Regions from separate parts of the Homo sapiens genome. Here region 2 is linked to region 1. Evidence: promoter capture Hi-C in 16 types of primary human blood cells and fetal thymus (Javierre and others, 2016). All regions are on one chromosome and are shown on one strand. The core of a region is centred on a gene start or on the middle of the fragment in contact, and the rest is flanking DNA. Distances in the headings are between cores, read along the strand shown. Region 1 holds the start of FAM167B (family with sequence similarity 167 member B). Region 2 has its middle 15 kb from the start of BSDC1.

The links. Contacts are between HindIII fragments. The CHiCAGO score rates a contact against its expected background, and 5 or more counts as called.
Region 2: a fragment that was not itself captured here is called in contact with the fragment with the promoter of FAM167B in region 1 in 2 of 17 cell types (total CD8 T cells and naive CD8 T cells); the score reaches 5.7 in total CD8 T cells.

The regions. Positions count from the first base shown.
Region 1 is chr1:32,242,625-32,249,558 of GRCh38, reverse strand. It overlaps FAM167B (family with sequence similarity 167 member B), which reads right to left and starts at 2,337. Exons shown (of 2, transcript NM_032648.3): 1 at 1,877-2,337; 2 at 703-1,188. The coding sequence starts at 2,137. The coding sequence ends at 958. RefSeq lists an enhancer at 920-1,079. The HindIII fragment of the contact is 5,457 bases long and covers 1-3,851 here.
Region 2 is chr1:32,406,068-32,413,447 of GRCh38, reverse strand. No RefSeq gene overlaps it. Among named protein-coding and RNA genes, the nearest start is that of BSDC1, 15 kb to the right of the region's middle. RefSeq lists an enhancer at 7,243-7,322. The HindIII fragment of the contact is 8,294 bases long and covers 1-6,532 here.

The sequences.
Region 1 (6,934 bases), core at 1,088-3,587:
ACTCGGGAGGCTGAGGCAGGAGAATCGCTTGAAATCGGAAGGTGGAGGTTGCAGTGAGCCAAGATCGCGCCACTACTCCAGCCTGGGCGAAAGAGTGAAATTCCATCTCAAAAAAAAGAAAAAAAAAAGAAAAGAAAAGAAAGGAAATTAGCTAGGCGAGGTGGTGGCCACCTGTAATCCCAGCTACTTGGGAGGCTGAGGCAGGAGAATCGCTTGAAATCAGAAGGTGGAGGTTGCAGTGAGCCAAGATCGCGCCACTACTCCAGCCTGGGCGAAAGAGTGAAATTCCATCTCAAAAAAAAGAAAAAAAAAGAAAAGAAAAGAAAGGAAATTAGCCAGGCGAGGTGGTGGCCGCCTGTAATCCCAGCTACTTGGGAGGCTGAGGCAGGAGAATCGCTTGATCCCCGGAGGCGGAGGTTGCAGTGAGCTGAGATTGTGCTACTGCATTCCAGCCTGGGTGACAGAGTGAGACTCTGCCTCAAAAAAAAAAAAAAAAAAAGAAGCAGAAGAAATAACAACAACAAAAAGAAATAAACGGGGTAGCTGGCTTTGAACCCATGTCTCTCAGATTCTGCATTCTTCAGGAGCCCAATTTACCTAAGTCACCTCCCATGGGCCTGCAGTGAACTAGGGTGGTCCCAGTGACAGGCGACATTCAGATAGCGGCCTTGGGCCTGAATAAACGACTGCAAGAGACCTTGATGGGAACCAGAGAAAGCGTTTATTGAGGAGTTTGAGGGTGTGAGCTCCTCCTCCTCCCCCTCCCAGCTGGGTCAGCAGAGGAAACAGGATGCTGGGGTTTTGCACTCTTGGAATTCAGCTCTCAGAAACCTGAATGTTCCTCCTCCCCCGCCAGGAGCTGGTGCCTCTGGGGCACCCCTCCCTTTCCTCTTCCCAGGCAGGCAGGGGAAGCGGCATTGGGAGAGGGGGCGGGGAGTCGGGGGGCACAGGTGTTCCTCAGCAGAGGGTGAAGCGCCGGGCGCTGATGTTCATGCGCGTGAGGCCCAGGTGCCGCAGCAGCGGGGCCAGGGCTAGGCCGGCCCCGGGCTCCAGCTCCAGCTCCAGCTCGGCCTCATCCAGCAGCTCCTGGTGCAGGTGACAGGCTTGGTCCATCTTCAGTCGGTGCAGCTGGGCCCGCAGCCGCAGCAGCTGCCCTGCCAGCTGCCTGTCCTGCGCCTGCATCTCCCGCTGCGGCCGAGAGGGGGCGTGAGCCTACTGGACAGGCCCTCGGCCGCGCGCCGTTTCTCCCTTCCTGGCAACGCTGGGCCTTTGCACTGACTGTGTCCTCCCCAGCCCCCTCTCACCTCAGCTTGATCTCTCCCTATCTCCCAATCTGGCTTCACCTGGTGGTTCTCAAACCCAGCTAAGGAGTCATTATTAAGCAAATCCAACTGCCTGGGCCCCATCCCAAATCAACTAAGCAGAATCTCTGTGTTGGAGCCTGGGTATCTTTATATTTGCACATGTTGAGTTGGGAGCCACCTACTGAAACTTCACCTCTTCAGAATCTGCCTGCAGCATGGCCAGTGCCTCCTTTTGCACTTCGCTGTATCTTTAGGCCATAGAAAGTCCCAGAGTAGGGGAGGCTGTGTATTTCCCTATTTATAATGGTGCCCCACACCCCCCAACACCAGTGCTCTGTCCCCTAAGCAACAGGAGCACAAGGTCAGTAGATTGGATGGAATCCTTCTTCAGCAAGCCTCCCTGAATACAACACTGGACAAGTCCATTCCCGGCTCCTCAGCCCAGGACACCGGAGCGGGCGGTTGCTGGAGGCAGGGTCCATTCTCATCCCTTCCCCATGCCTGTGGTCTTGGACCCTAAGGAGGACCAGCCTGAAGGCCCTGGGCAAAGCTGCCCACCCCACCAGACTCACCAGCTCCCGTCGGAGCCACTCAAGGGCGGAGTCCATTGAGTCGAAACCACAGATGTCCCCAGGTCCCCCTGGTCCAGGTTTGGCTTGGGCCCTGCGCCAGGCCTGGCTCTGGACCTGGGCTGTCCACTCCAGATATGAGGGCCGCCGAGTCTGCAGCTGCAGCTTGGCTGTCAGTGCCTTCACAGAGTCCAGGCTCTCCCCCTCCTCATCCTCCTCGTCCTCTTCACCCACTGCCTGGAATTTCAGTAGCCCCAGGGACATGGCAGGTTTGAGGTGAGTGACAGGGCAGGGCTGCAGCTCTGAGATTAGGGAAAGGCTGGCAGTATTGCCCAGGGAGAGGTGGCAGAAGTTGAGGGTGAGAAGAGCGTGCCAGGGAGTGTGTGGTGGTCAATGTTCAAGGTGGGTTAGGGGGGCTGAATGTGCCAGGGTGAGTGAGCAGATGGGTGTGTGAGGCCAAGTATGCAAGGGCTGGAATTTTCCTGGACTGCTAACTTGGGAGCCACGTGATGCCCATCTGGGTGGGGGCCGGAGGAACCCTGCTCCTCTGGCCCTTTGGATGAATTTTATTGTCTTTGCCCAGAAGGAGACACCCAATTCCCAGAAAGGAAGTTGCTCCAGGATGAGAAAAGCATCATTCATACCAGAGTCTTGGCCCTCCTCCCAAGACTCATGTTAAGGGAGCTGAGATCAGGAAGGAGGCTGCCTAGCCACCCCTTGTCCTTACTCGTGACACCAGCCCTTCAGGAAAGGACTAGCCTCCAGGGCCCTGGCCTGGGAGTCAGGAGACCTGAGTTCTAGTGCTGGCTCTGCAGAACCTTGGGCAAGTCACTGACCTTCTCAGAGCTCTGTTGGGACAGATGAAGGATTTCAAGCTAATACTCTAAGGAGCCCTCAAGGGCTGCCTGCAGGAGAAGGACAGAGCTGTGGATGGGCTCCTTGCCTTCCATCTCCCTGCCCCTCCCAGGGCTTCAACCAGAGCAGTTCCCTTTTTTAAACTTTGTTTTCAAACATAACATACACACAGAAGGACAGGTGCAGTGGCTCACGCCTGTAATCCCTGCACTTTGGGAAGCCGAGGTGGGCGGATCACGAAGTCAGGAGTTTAAGACCATCCTGGCTAACACGGTGAAACCCCGTCTCTACTAAAAATACAAAAAATTAGCCGAGTGTGGTAGCATGCATCTGTAGTCCCAGCTACTTGGGAGGCTGAGGCAAGAGAATCGCTTGAACCCGGGAGGCAGAGGTTGCAGTGAGCCGAGATCGAGCCATTGCATTCCAGCCTGGGTGACAAAGCAAGACTCTGTCAAAAGAAAGAAAGAAGGAAAGAGAGAGAGAGAGAGAGAGAAGGGAGGGAGGGAGGAAGGAAGGAAGGAAGGAAGGAAGGGGAAAGAAGTGTAACATACACACAGAAAAACTGTACATATCATAAATGCATGGAGACACGGTGGCTCACGCCTGTAATCCCAACATTTTGGGAGGCTGAGGCGGGCAGATCACCTGAGGTCAGGAGTTTAAGACCAGCCTGGCCAACATGGTGAAACCCTATCTCTACTAAAAATACAAAATGAGCTGGGCGTGGTGGTGCATGCCTGTAATCCCAGCTACCCAGGAGGATGAGGCAGGAGAATCACTGGAGCCTGGAGGCGGAGGTTGCAGTGAGCCAAGATCACACCACTGCACTCTAGCCTGGGCAAAAAGAGCGAAACTCCATCTCAAAAAATAAGTAAATAAGTAAATAAATGAATGTATGGCTCGATGAATTCTCCCAAACTGAACACATCCATGTAACCAGCACCCAGATCAAGCAACAGAGTATTACCAGCACCCAGGAACCGCTGTTAGCCTCCCATGTGCTCCTGGCCTGTCACTAATCTAAGGGTAACACCACCCTCATTCTAACAGCATAGTTTTCTCTGTTTATATGCCTTCTAGTGGTTCACAAACTTTAGCATGCATCAGAATCACCTAGAAAGCTTGCTAAGATGGCTAGGCCCCACCACCCAGAGTTTCAGATTCAGTATGTATGGGGTGGGGCCTGGTAATCTGCATTTCTACCAAATTCCCATCCCAGCTGCTGCTGCTGGTCTGGAATTTTACAATTTATGCTTTTTTTTTTTTTCGAGACAGGGTCTTGCTTTGTTGCCAGGCTGGAGTGCAGTGGTGGGATTACAGCTCACTGCAACCTTGAACTCTTGGACTCAGGTGATTCTCTTGCTTGACCTCCTCAGTAGCTGGGACTTACAGGGCCAAGACCCCACACCCAGCTAATTTTTTTTTTTTTTAAGTTTTTGATAGAGATGAGGTCTTCCTCTGTTGCTCATAATGGTTTTGAACTCAGCCAGGCGCGGTGGTTCACGCCTGTAATCCCAGCACTTTGGGAGGCCAAGGTGGGTGGATCACGAGGTCAGGAGATCGAGACCATCCTGGCTAACATGGTGAAACCCCATCTCTACTAAAAAAATACAAAAAAATTAGCTGGGCATGGTGGCAGGCACCTGTAGTCCCAGCTACTTGGGAGGCTGAGGCAGGAGAATGGCGTGAACCCGGGAGGCGGAGCTTGCAGTGAGCCGAGATTGCGCCACTGCACTCCAGCCTGGGCAACAGAGTGAGACTCCGTCTCGCCGGGCGCGGTGGCTCACGCCTGTAATCCCAGCACTTTGGGAGGCCGAGGCGGGCGGATCACGAGGTCAGGAGATCGAGACTCCGTCTCAAAAAAATAAATAAATAAATAACAGGATTGAAAGAGGATGAGAAAGAAAAAAAAATTAGGGCATGGTGGCACATGCCTGTGCCCAACTACCTGGGAGACTGAGATGGAAGGATTGCTTGAGCCCAGAAGGGCAAAGCTGCTGCAGTGAGCCCTGATCACATCACTACACTCCAGGCCTGGGTGACAGAGGCCGACCTGTCTCAAAATAAAAAATTAAAAAAAGGCTTCTGTATCTATGAAGTACCATTGTTTTATTCCTTTATTCTTTTTTTCTTTTCTTCTCTTTTTTTTTTTTTTTTTTTTTTGAGAGAAGTCTCACTCATCCCCCAGGTTTGAGTGCAATGGCTCAATCTCGGCTCATTGCAACCTCCGCCTCCCGGGTTCAAAAGATTCTCCTGCCTCTGCCTCCCAAGTAGCTGGGATTAAGTTGCCTGCCACCACTAATTTTTGTATATTTTAGTAGAGACGGGGTTTCGCCATGTTGGCCAGGCTGGTTTCGAACTCCTGACCTCAAGTGATCCACCCACCTCAGCCTCCCAAAGTGCTGGGATTACAGGCGTGAGCCACTGCGCCCAGCCTATTCTTTTCTTTTTTATTTTTTTGAGACGGAGTCTCACTTTGTCGCCCAGGCTGGAGTGCAGTGGTGCAATCTAGGCTTACTGCAAGCTCCACCTCCTGGGTTCATGCCATTCTCCTGCCTCAGCCTCCCAAGTAGCTGGGACTACAGGTGCCTGCCACCATGCCCCGCTAATTTTTTTGTATTTTTAGTAGAGACAGGGTTTCACCGTGTCAGCCAGGATGGTCTTGATCTCTTGACCTCGTGATCCGCTCTTCTTGGCCTCCCAAAGTGCTGGGATTACAGGTGTGAGCCACCGTGCCCGGCCTCTTTTTTTTTTTTTTTTTTTTTTAATGAGACGGGGTCTCACTCTGTCACCCAAGCTGGAGTGCAGTGGTGCAATCTCAGCTCACTGCAACCCCCACCTCCCAGGCTCAAGTGATCCTCCCACCTCAGCCTCCCAAGTAGCTGGGACCACAGGCCCATGCCACACCTGGCTAATTTTTTGTGTTTTTGGTAGAGTTGGGGTTTCACCATGTTGCCCAGGCTGGTCTCAAACTCCTGGGCTCAAGTGATCCTCCTGCCTCGGTCTCCCAAAGTGCTAGGATTATGGCCATGAGCCACCACTCCTCTCCCTATTCCTCTATTCTTTTTCTTTCTTTTTTCTTTTCTTTTTTTTTTTTTTTTTGATACAAGTCTCACTCTATTGCCCAAGCTAGAGTGCAGTGGCGTGATCTCAGCTCACTGCAACATCCACCTCCTGGGTTCAAGCAATTCTCCTGCCTCAGCCTCCCAAGTAGCTAGGACTACAGGTGCGAGCCACCATGCCTGACAAATTTTTCTATTTTTAGTAGAGACAGGGTTTCACCATATTGGCCACGCTGGTCTTGAACTCCTGACCTCAAGTGATCCGCCTGCCTTGGACTCCCAAAGTGCTGGGATTACAGGAGTGAGCCAACTCGCTTGGCTTTTTTTTTTTTTTTTTTTTTTGAGGCAGAGTCTTGCTCTGTTGCCCAGGCTAGAGTGCAGTGGTGCGATCTCAGCTCACTGCAGCCTCCGTTTCTCGGGTTCAAGGGACTCTCCTGCCTCAGCTTCCCGAGTAGCTGGGACTACAAGCACATACCACCATGCCTGGCTAATTTTTGTATTTTTAGTAGAGACCAGATTTAGCCATGTTGGCCAGGCTGTTCTTGAACTTCTGGCCTCAAGGTATCCACCCACCTCAGCCTCCCAAAGGGTTGGGATTACAGGGGTAAGCCACCGCACCCAGCCCTATTCCTTTATTCTCAATTAAAAAGAAAGAAAGAAAATAAATAAATAAATAAATAAATAAAATAAGCTGGGCATGGTGGCTCATGCCTGTAATCCCAGCACTTTGGGAGGCCATGCAGCAGGAGCATTGCTTGAGGCTTGGAGTTGAAGACCAGCCTGGGCAAAACAGGGAGACCCCCATCTCCACAAAAATATTTACAAAAGAAAAAGAAGACGGATGGATGAATAGATGGGTCCTGTGGTAAATCAGCTCAGCTCTCGTCCTGCAATTTTACCAGCTTAATTGTGTCTCTTGCCAGACTGAAAACCCTGTGAACAGAATCTTCCCCAGTCATCCCTGGGCCCCAGCACCAAACACAGGGCCCAGCTAACTCACTGTACAGGTAATACACACTTGCTGAAACGATGGTGGATAGCTGATGGGGTTCTTGAGGTCTGGACTCAGCCAGAAGTGGGCTGCACAGAGGGCGCCCTCAGGCAGGGACTTCCAGCTGCGAGGTCGAGGAGGGACGCCAGCTAC
Region 2 (7,380 bases), core at 1,136-3,635, 160 kb before region 1:
AGGAGTTTAGGAGCAGAAGTTTAATAGGTAGAAGAAAAGAGAGAGAAACAGCTTCCTGCACAGAGGAAGGGGTCTCCAAGCAGAAGGAACCTAGCAGAAAATGACCAAGTGGAAAAGGACTGGCTGGTGGCAAATAAGCTGAGTTTTATATACAGTTTGAGGTCGTGGTGTCTGATTTATGTAGGGCTCACAGATTGGTTCGATCAGGTATGGGTTTACATAGGGCACAGGGAAGACTGGTCACCTCACCTTAATCTTCTTATGCAAATGGACTTTCCAGTTGATCAGCACTATCTTATCCACTCCTTTACAGTACCCATGGCTGGCAGAAAAGGGAGGATGGAGCCATCATCTTGAACATGTCTAGTCCTTAGTTCCTGCCTGCATTCACCTGTGCAAGCGCCCAGCTTTCAGGCTGCTCTTTGTTAGAAAATGATTTGGGGCTGCTTTTCATTAAAAAGAGAAGACTTACCAAGGACTCCCATCCCCTTACTATCTGCCTAAGTAATTTCTTCTTAACTCCTGTATCAACAGTTACCCATCAAATACAAAGGAGGAAGGGTTACCAGTAAGCAACAGGGTTGACATGAAAACAGAGTGGTGAGACCTACAGAAATCTTTGGAAACAACTGCTTATGAACGGCCTACCAAGTTCCCACTTTTTTATTTTTTTTGAGACAGGGTCTCACTCTGTCACCTAGGCGGGAATGCAGTGGTGCAATCATGGCTCACTCATTACAGCCTCAACCTCCCGAGCTCAAGTGATCCTCCCATATCAGCCTCCCAAGTAGTTGGGACTACAGGCACGCACCATCATCCCTGGCAAATTTTTGTACTTTTTGTAGAGATGGGATTTCACTGTGTTGCCCAAGCTGGTCTCGAGCTCCTGGGCTCAAGCAATCCACTCACCTCAGCCTCCCAAAGTGCTGAGATTACAGGCATGAGCCACCGTGCCCAACTCCCACTTAATGTTTTCTTTTGTTTTTTGAGTCAGAGTCTTGCTCTGTCACCCAGGCTTGAGTGCAGTGGTGCAATCTTGGCTCACTGCAACCTCCATCTCCTGGGATCAGGCGATTCTCCTGCCTCAGCCTCCCGAGTAACTGGCATTACAGTCATGTGCCAACACACCTGGCTAATTTTTTGTATTTTTGGTAGAGATGGGGTTTCACCTTGTTGGCCAGGCTGGTCTTGAACTCCTGACCTCAAGCGATCCACCTGCCTTGGCTTCCCAAAGTGCTAGGATTACAGGCATGAGCCACCACACATGGCCTCCCACTTAGTTTTTATATCAAGACAAACAACAAAAATACCTCCTTGTCCAGTAAACAGAGGTCTATTTTGACACAATAGACAGTTTTCATCTTTCACGCAATTCCCATACATGAATCAATTCACAGGTGCACAGACCATTGATTAAAGGAAGAGTATAGGATGCTTAAGGAAAGATCCAGCAACAGCAACACAAGTTCATACTATGAACATTTTTTCCTGTTCTTTCCCAACGGATAAATACACAAACCTCTTGGGGACAATCAGACAACTAACCACAGATTCCTGGAGACCCACAATGCCTCTGGGCTTCAGCAGTCAGAGTATGGGCTTATGGAAATGTATGATTAAGTGTTGATAAGAAAAACAGAGAACATTCAACATATTTCAAGCAGAAATGTATATAATGCAGGGACTTGCTTACAAAGATGTTGGAAATGCCAAAGGAGCTAAGAGTAAAATGTGACATTTTCCAGAGCCCAGGAAACCACCCTGGGGGTGAAGCCAACAACCCCACTTTCACTACTGACAGTGCTGGAAGAGCCACCACTGCTAAAGGTAAGTCACCTCCTAAAGCCTAAGAATTTCTCCCTTCTTCTCACCTTCAAATATAACCAAGCACCTCCCATTGGCACAATGTAACTGGGACCCAGCTAGCAGTGGAGTCTGGGAAGTGTTGTTGGCTGGTGTCTAGCTCTGGCAGTACAGGGCAGATGGCAGATGGTCAACTGAGAGGCTAAGTACCAAGAGACAACAGGAGGCATGGGGATTTAGGTGACAAATGGAGTTTTGACCAAAGTCCACTTTAGGGTGGATCTAGTCCCCAAAACTGATAGTTTTGTCCTTGTTTGTATAACTGTAAGGAATTTCCTAAAATACTGGCAGAAACCTGCATTAGCCTACTGACCATAGGTTAATAGCTTTTATTATAAGAATAGGTTATTATATAACTTAACATAGGTTAAATAGAATAGGTTTATTATAAGAATAGGTTAATAGCTTTTATTATAAGAAGAACAGGCTGGGCGTGGTGGCTCATGCCTGTAATCTTAGCACTTTGGGAGGCTGAAGCAGGCAGATCACCTGGGGTCAGGAGTTCGAGACCAGCCTGGCCAACATGGGGCAACCCCATCTCTACTAAAAATACAAATATTAGCCAAGTGGCAGGTGCCCGTAATCCAAGCTACTCGGGAGGCTGAGGCAGGAGAATTGCTTGAACCCAGGGGCAGAGATTGCAGTGAGCTGAGATCACACCACTGTACTTCAGCCTGAGTGAGAGAGTGAAACTCTGCCTCTAAATAAATAAATAAAACAAGCTGGATGTAGTGGCTCATGCCTGTAAACTCTCAACACTTTAAGAGGCTGAGGCTGGCAGATCGCTTGAGGCCAGGAATTTGAAACCAGCATGGGCAGCATGGTAAAACCCTGTCTCTACTAAAAATACAAAAATTAGCTGGGCATGGTGGTGCACGCCTGTAATCCCAGCTACTCAGGAGGCCGAAGCAGGGGAATTGCTTGAACCTGGGAGGCAGAGGTTGCAGTAAGCTGAGATCATGCCACTGCACTCCAGCCTGGGTGACAGAGTGAGACTCTATCTCAAAAAAGAAAAACAAAGTAGAACTCATCAAAGTTTTTCATTCCCACCAAAATGTAAATTAAAATAAAAAATTCTGGTATGCTGAGAGCAACTAAAAGAATTTTTTAAATAAAAATAAAATAAAAAATCCTGAAAGCATTGCAAAGTTTAATGCCACCATCAAAGACCTCAGATATGCAGAGGCGGTGACTTCTGTCACATCCATATCCATGTCTTCAGTTTAGATAAAGAGACAGATGGTCTTCAAGAAGGTGGAGGAATATTGAAAACTGAATCAAATGGCAGCCTCAGTTGCCACTGCTATTTCAGATGTGGCTTTTGGGGGAGTACATCAGTACGACTCCCAGAATTTGATCAAGCAAATGCATTTTTCTCCAATATAACAGAGGATATAAGAAGCAATTTGTGGCCAGGCATGGTGCCTCATGCTTGTAATCCCAGCACTTTGGGAGGCTAAGGCAGGTGGATCATTTGAGGCCAGTAGTTCGAGACCAGCCTGGCCAACATGGTGAAACCTTGTTTCTACTAAAAATACAAAAAATTAGCCAGGCATGGTGGCGGGTGCCTGTAATCCCATCTACTTGGGAGGCTGAGGCAGGGGAATTGCTTGAACCCTGGAGGTGGAGGTTGCAGTGAGCCAAGATCGCGCCATTGCACTCCAGCCTGAATGACAGACCGAAACTCCATCTCAATGGAAAAAAAAAAAAAAAAAAGAAGCAGCAGCAATTTGCTTTATGGCCAGGCATGGTGGCTCACACCTGTAATCCTAGCACTTTGGGAGGCTGAGGCTGGCAGAAGTTTCAGTGAGCCAAGATCATGTGTGCCACTCCACTCCAGCTTGGGTGACAGAGTGAGACTCCCTCTCAAAAAAAAAAAAAAAAAAGCAATTTGCTTTATAATCTTTACTCAAAGAAAATCCAACACTTCTGCTCTGTGCCCCAATTTGGTCTGTAGAAATTTTGGCTCTGCCATCATCTGTATCAGTCAGTTCAGTGCAGAAAACAAACAACTCAATGTATTCAAAACAGGCGTTTCCTGCCAGCAGCCACTTCTGCAGAAAGGTGACTTCTGCCTCATGTCTGCTTTCCCAAATCTCACATGGATGTGCCTACTTGAAGGAACCTAGTTCACAAGCAGAACCTTAGCTGCAAGGGACTCTGGGAAATGTGGTATTTCACTTTACAATGCATCCAATAGAAGGAGGGTGGCATAGAGGTCAAGAGTCAGTCCAAGTATTTGTCATTCCATCCTACAGGCTGTCATGCTGTTCCACTATTTTGGTGGCATCGTGCTGACAGAACCCCAAAAGTAGAAAACATTGGGTATAAAAGGGTGGGAGATAAATCCAACAAAAATATAGCAGCCTGCCATTTCATTAAAATTTTGGAAGTCACACAGTCTGAGACACACCAGGACATTCCCTCCAGAGCAAAGGACAGGTTGCTGCACTTTAGTCTTCCTTCCTCTAAGAAGGAACCCCAGTGCTTGATAGGTCTCTTTGGATTTTGCGGGCAACATACAAACATTACTAGGTACACTACTTCTTTTTTTTTTTTTAATAATTTTTTTACTTTTATTTTTAGCAAAGACATGGTTTTGCCATGTTGGCCAGGCTGGTCTTGAACTCTTGGCCTCAAGCAATCAGCCCGCCGTGGCTTCCCAAAGTGCTGGAATTATAGGCATGAGCCACCGCACCCAGCCAACTCCTTCTAACTATTTGCCAGTCTCCAGGTTTGAGTAAGGCACAGAGTTAGAGAGGATGCCTCTCCAACTGGTCCAGGCTCAGCAATTTGGCCCTGACAGCTGAACAGATCCACAGTCAAAGTGTCTGAGGGAAGGCCAGGTGCGGTGGCTTACACCTGTAATCCCAGCACTTTAGGAGGCCGAGGCAGATGGATCACCTGAGGTCAGGAATTCAAGACCAGCCTGACCAAGATGGAGAAACCCCATCTCTATTAAAAATACAAAATTAGCTGGGCATGGTGGCGGGTGCCTGTAATCCCAGCTACTCAGGGGGCTGAGGCAGGAGAATTGCTTGAACCTGGGAGGCGGAAGGTGCAGTGAGCCGAGATCGTGCCATTGCACTCCAGCCTGGGCAACTAAGAGTGAAACTCTGCCTCAAAAAAAAAAAAAAAGCGTCTGAGGGAAATGATGCCATACTGAGCCTATTGCAAACATTGGTAGAGGGATCACCATAGAGGCCCTCAAAGTTTGGAGGCAAAGCTGTTAGCCGTTCCTCATTCATACTGAGTATTTTTCTTTTGAGAAATAGCTCCTGAGTTTTAGTAGTAGTAGCTACTCGTAGCTAGTAGCTACTTTTTTTTTTTTAAAGAACATGAACCAAAGTTTTATTTGTTCATTATCGCATTTGAAGTACTCTTCGATGACATCCTTGCCCTAGTAGTAGCTACTAGGATTTTCCTAATAGTTCTAGTAGGCTGAATGCTTGACCATAGAGCACTAGGTGACGTTGCAACCTGAGCTGCCCATCATGAATTGGGTGTTTTCTGATCGCCAATACTCAGTAATTCTCAAGTGAAAGTGGCCCATAGAGAATGTGGCCTAAACAGCCCTGAAGGTGCAATGAGCAGGCTGTTCTTACTCCCAGTACCCATTCCTGCACACTGCTCCAGAGACTCCAACCCAGGCGACATGGGAGGAAACGAGTGTGAACTGTTATGCATGGCTCTGTACAATGTGCTGGTATGAGCCAGAAATGGACTGTCATGGCCTGAGCAAGGTCACTCTGAAGGATAGCAGAGAAAGGAACTCTTCTTGGTGGCAGTTGGAGCAAGGCATGTGGTTTTCCACTGTCTCGAGGCAGAGATGTCTTGAAATCAGAATCAACATTGAATCACAGGCCATGGTTACTGAAGGAAGCAAGATGAGAGAATAAAAAGTTTAGGAGAGGATGGGCACGGTGGCTCATGCCTGTAATCCCAGCATTTTGGGAGGCCGAGGCAGGCAGATCACTTGAGGTCAGGAATTCTAGACCAGCCTGGCCAACATGGCGAAACCTTTGTGTCTACCAAAAAACACAAAAATTAGCCAGGCTTGGTGGTCACGCCTGTAATTCCAGCTACTCAGGATGTGGGAGCACAAAAATCACTTGAACCTGGGAGGTGGAGGTTGCAGTGAGCAGAGATGACACCTCTGCACTCCAGCCTGGGCAACAGAGTGAGATCCTGTCTCAACAACAACAAAAAAAGTTTGGGAGAGAGAAACAAGGATAGACCCGCTGAAATAGACCCAGCCATTAGAATATTCATGACTATGTAAATGATTGTGACAAGGCTCCACTGTAAAGAAAAAATTATATGAGAGCCTGGTTTTCAGATGGCAGATTCTGAAAGAGCAAGAAACAGTTTTATGAAAATGGTTATATGGCCCCAAAGGATGCTGGAGAAGGAAATTCCTCAATAGGCAGAACTGTAAGCAGTGCATTTCATTGTCCACTTTGCCTGGTAGGAAAAATGGCCTGAGGTCAGGATCTATACCAGTTCACGAGCCAATGACAAATAGTGTGAGTAGCTCAGCATCTTAAAAGATTGCAAGTTAATGACAAAGAGGTTTGGGAAAGGTGGATTTCCTGGAATGGTCACAGATCATGAGACAGCAGGTGTGCCAAATGATTGCTCACCATGGGCCCCCGCTGTGCAGGAAGCTTTCACTAATCAGCAGATCTGTTCTGTGGATATTAACTAGATGGCCTTTTCCACCAGCCAGTCCAGTTCTTGTTCAATGGGTTCATGGACAAAGGACGATAGTGACAGGAGTGGAAATTATGCATAGGCCCAAGAACAGGGACATCCCTGTCCAAGGCCGTCCTGGCAACCACCACTACTGACCTACTGATGCCCTGTTTGCCTACAGGAGCAAACAGTCCTGGACTCTTGATGTGATGTCATACCTTGAGGGAACAAACCAACTATCTGGTGGCAGATCAATTACATAGGACCATGTCCCTTGTGAAGAAGGAACAATTTGTCTCACCGGTGACAGTGCTTACTCTGGGTTTGAATTTCCTTTCCCTGCTTCTCATTCTTCTCTCAGAACCTCCATCTATGGACTTAATACACAGTCTTAGTGTCCCACACAATATTGTTTCTGACCATGAAATTCACTTCACAAGAAAAGAAGTGAGAGTGAGCAGACACCAGAGGATTCACTAACCTGAGCTCCATCAGCCAGCCTTCTAGAGTGGTGGCAAAACCTACTGAAGGTCCAGGTAATCTACCAGCTGTTAGATAGCACCCTGTGAGATACAGCACTGTTAAAAGGATGCAGTATATGCTCTGAACCAGTGTACCATTTCTTCCTTAGCCAGATACATAGTTCAGAAACCAAGAGCTGTGTGTAGGAGTGGTTTCTTTCACACTTAGACTTTTTTTTTTTTTTGGAGACAGGGTCTCCCTCTGTCACCCAGGGTAGAGTGCAGTGGTGCAATCTTGGCTCACTGCAACCTTCACTTCCCGGGCTCAACTGATTCTCCTGCCTCAGCTAGCACCACAGGT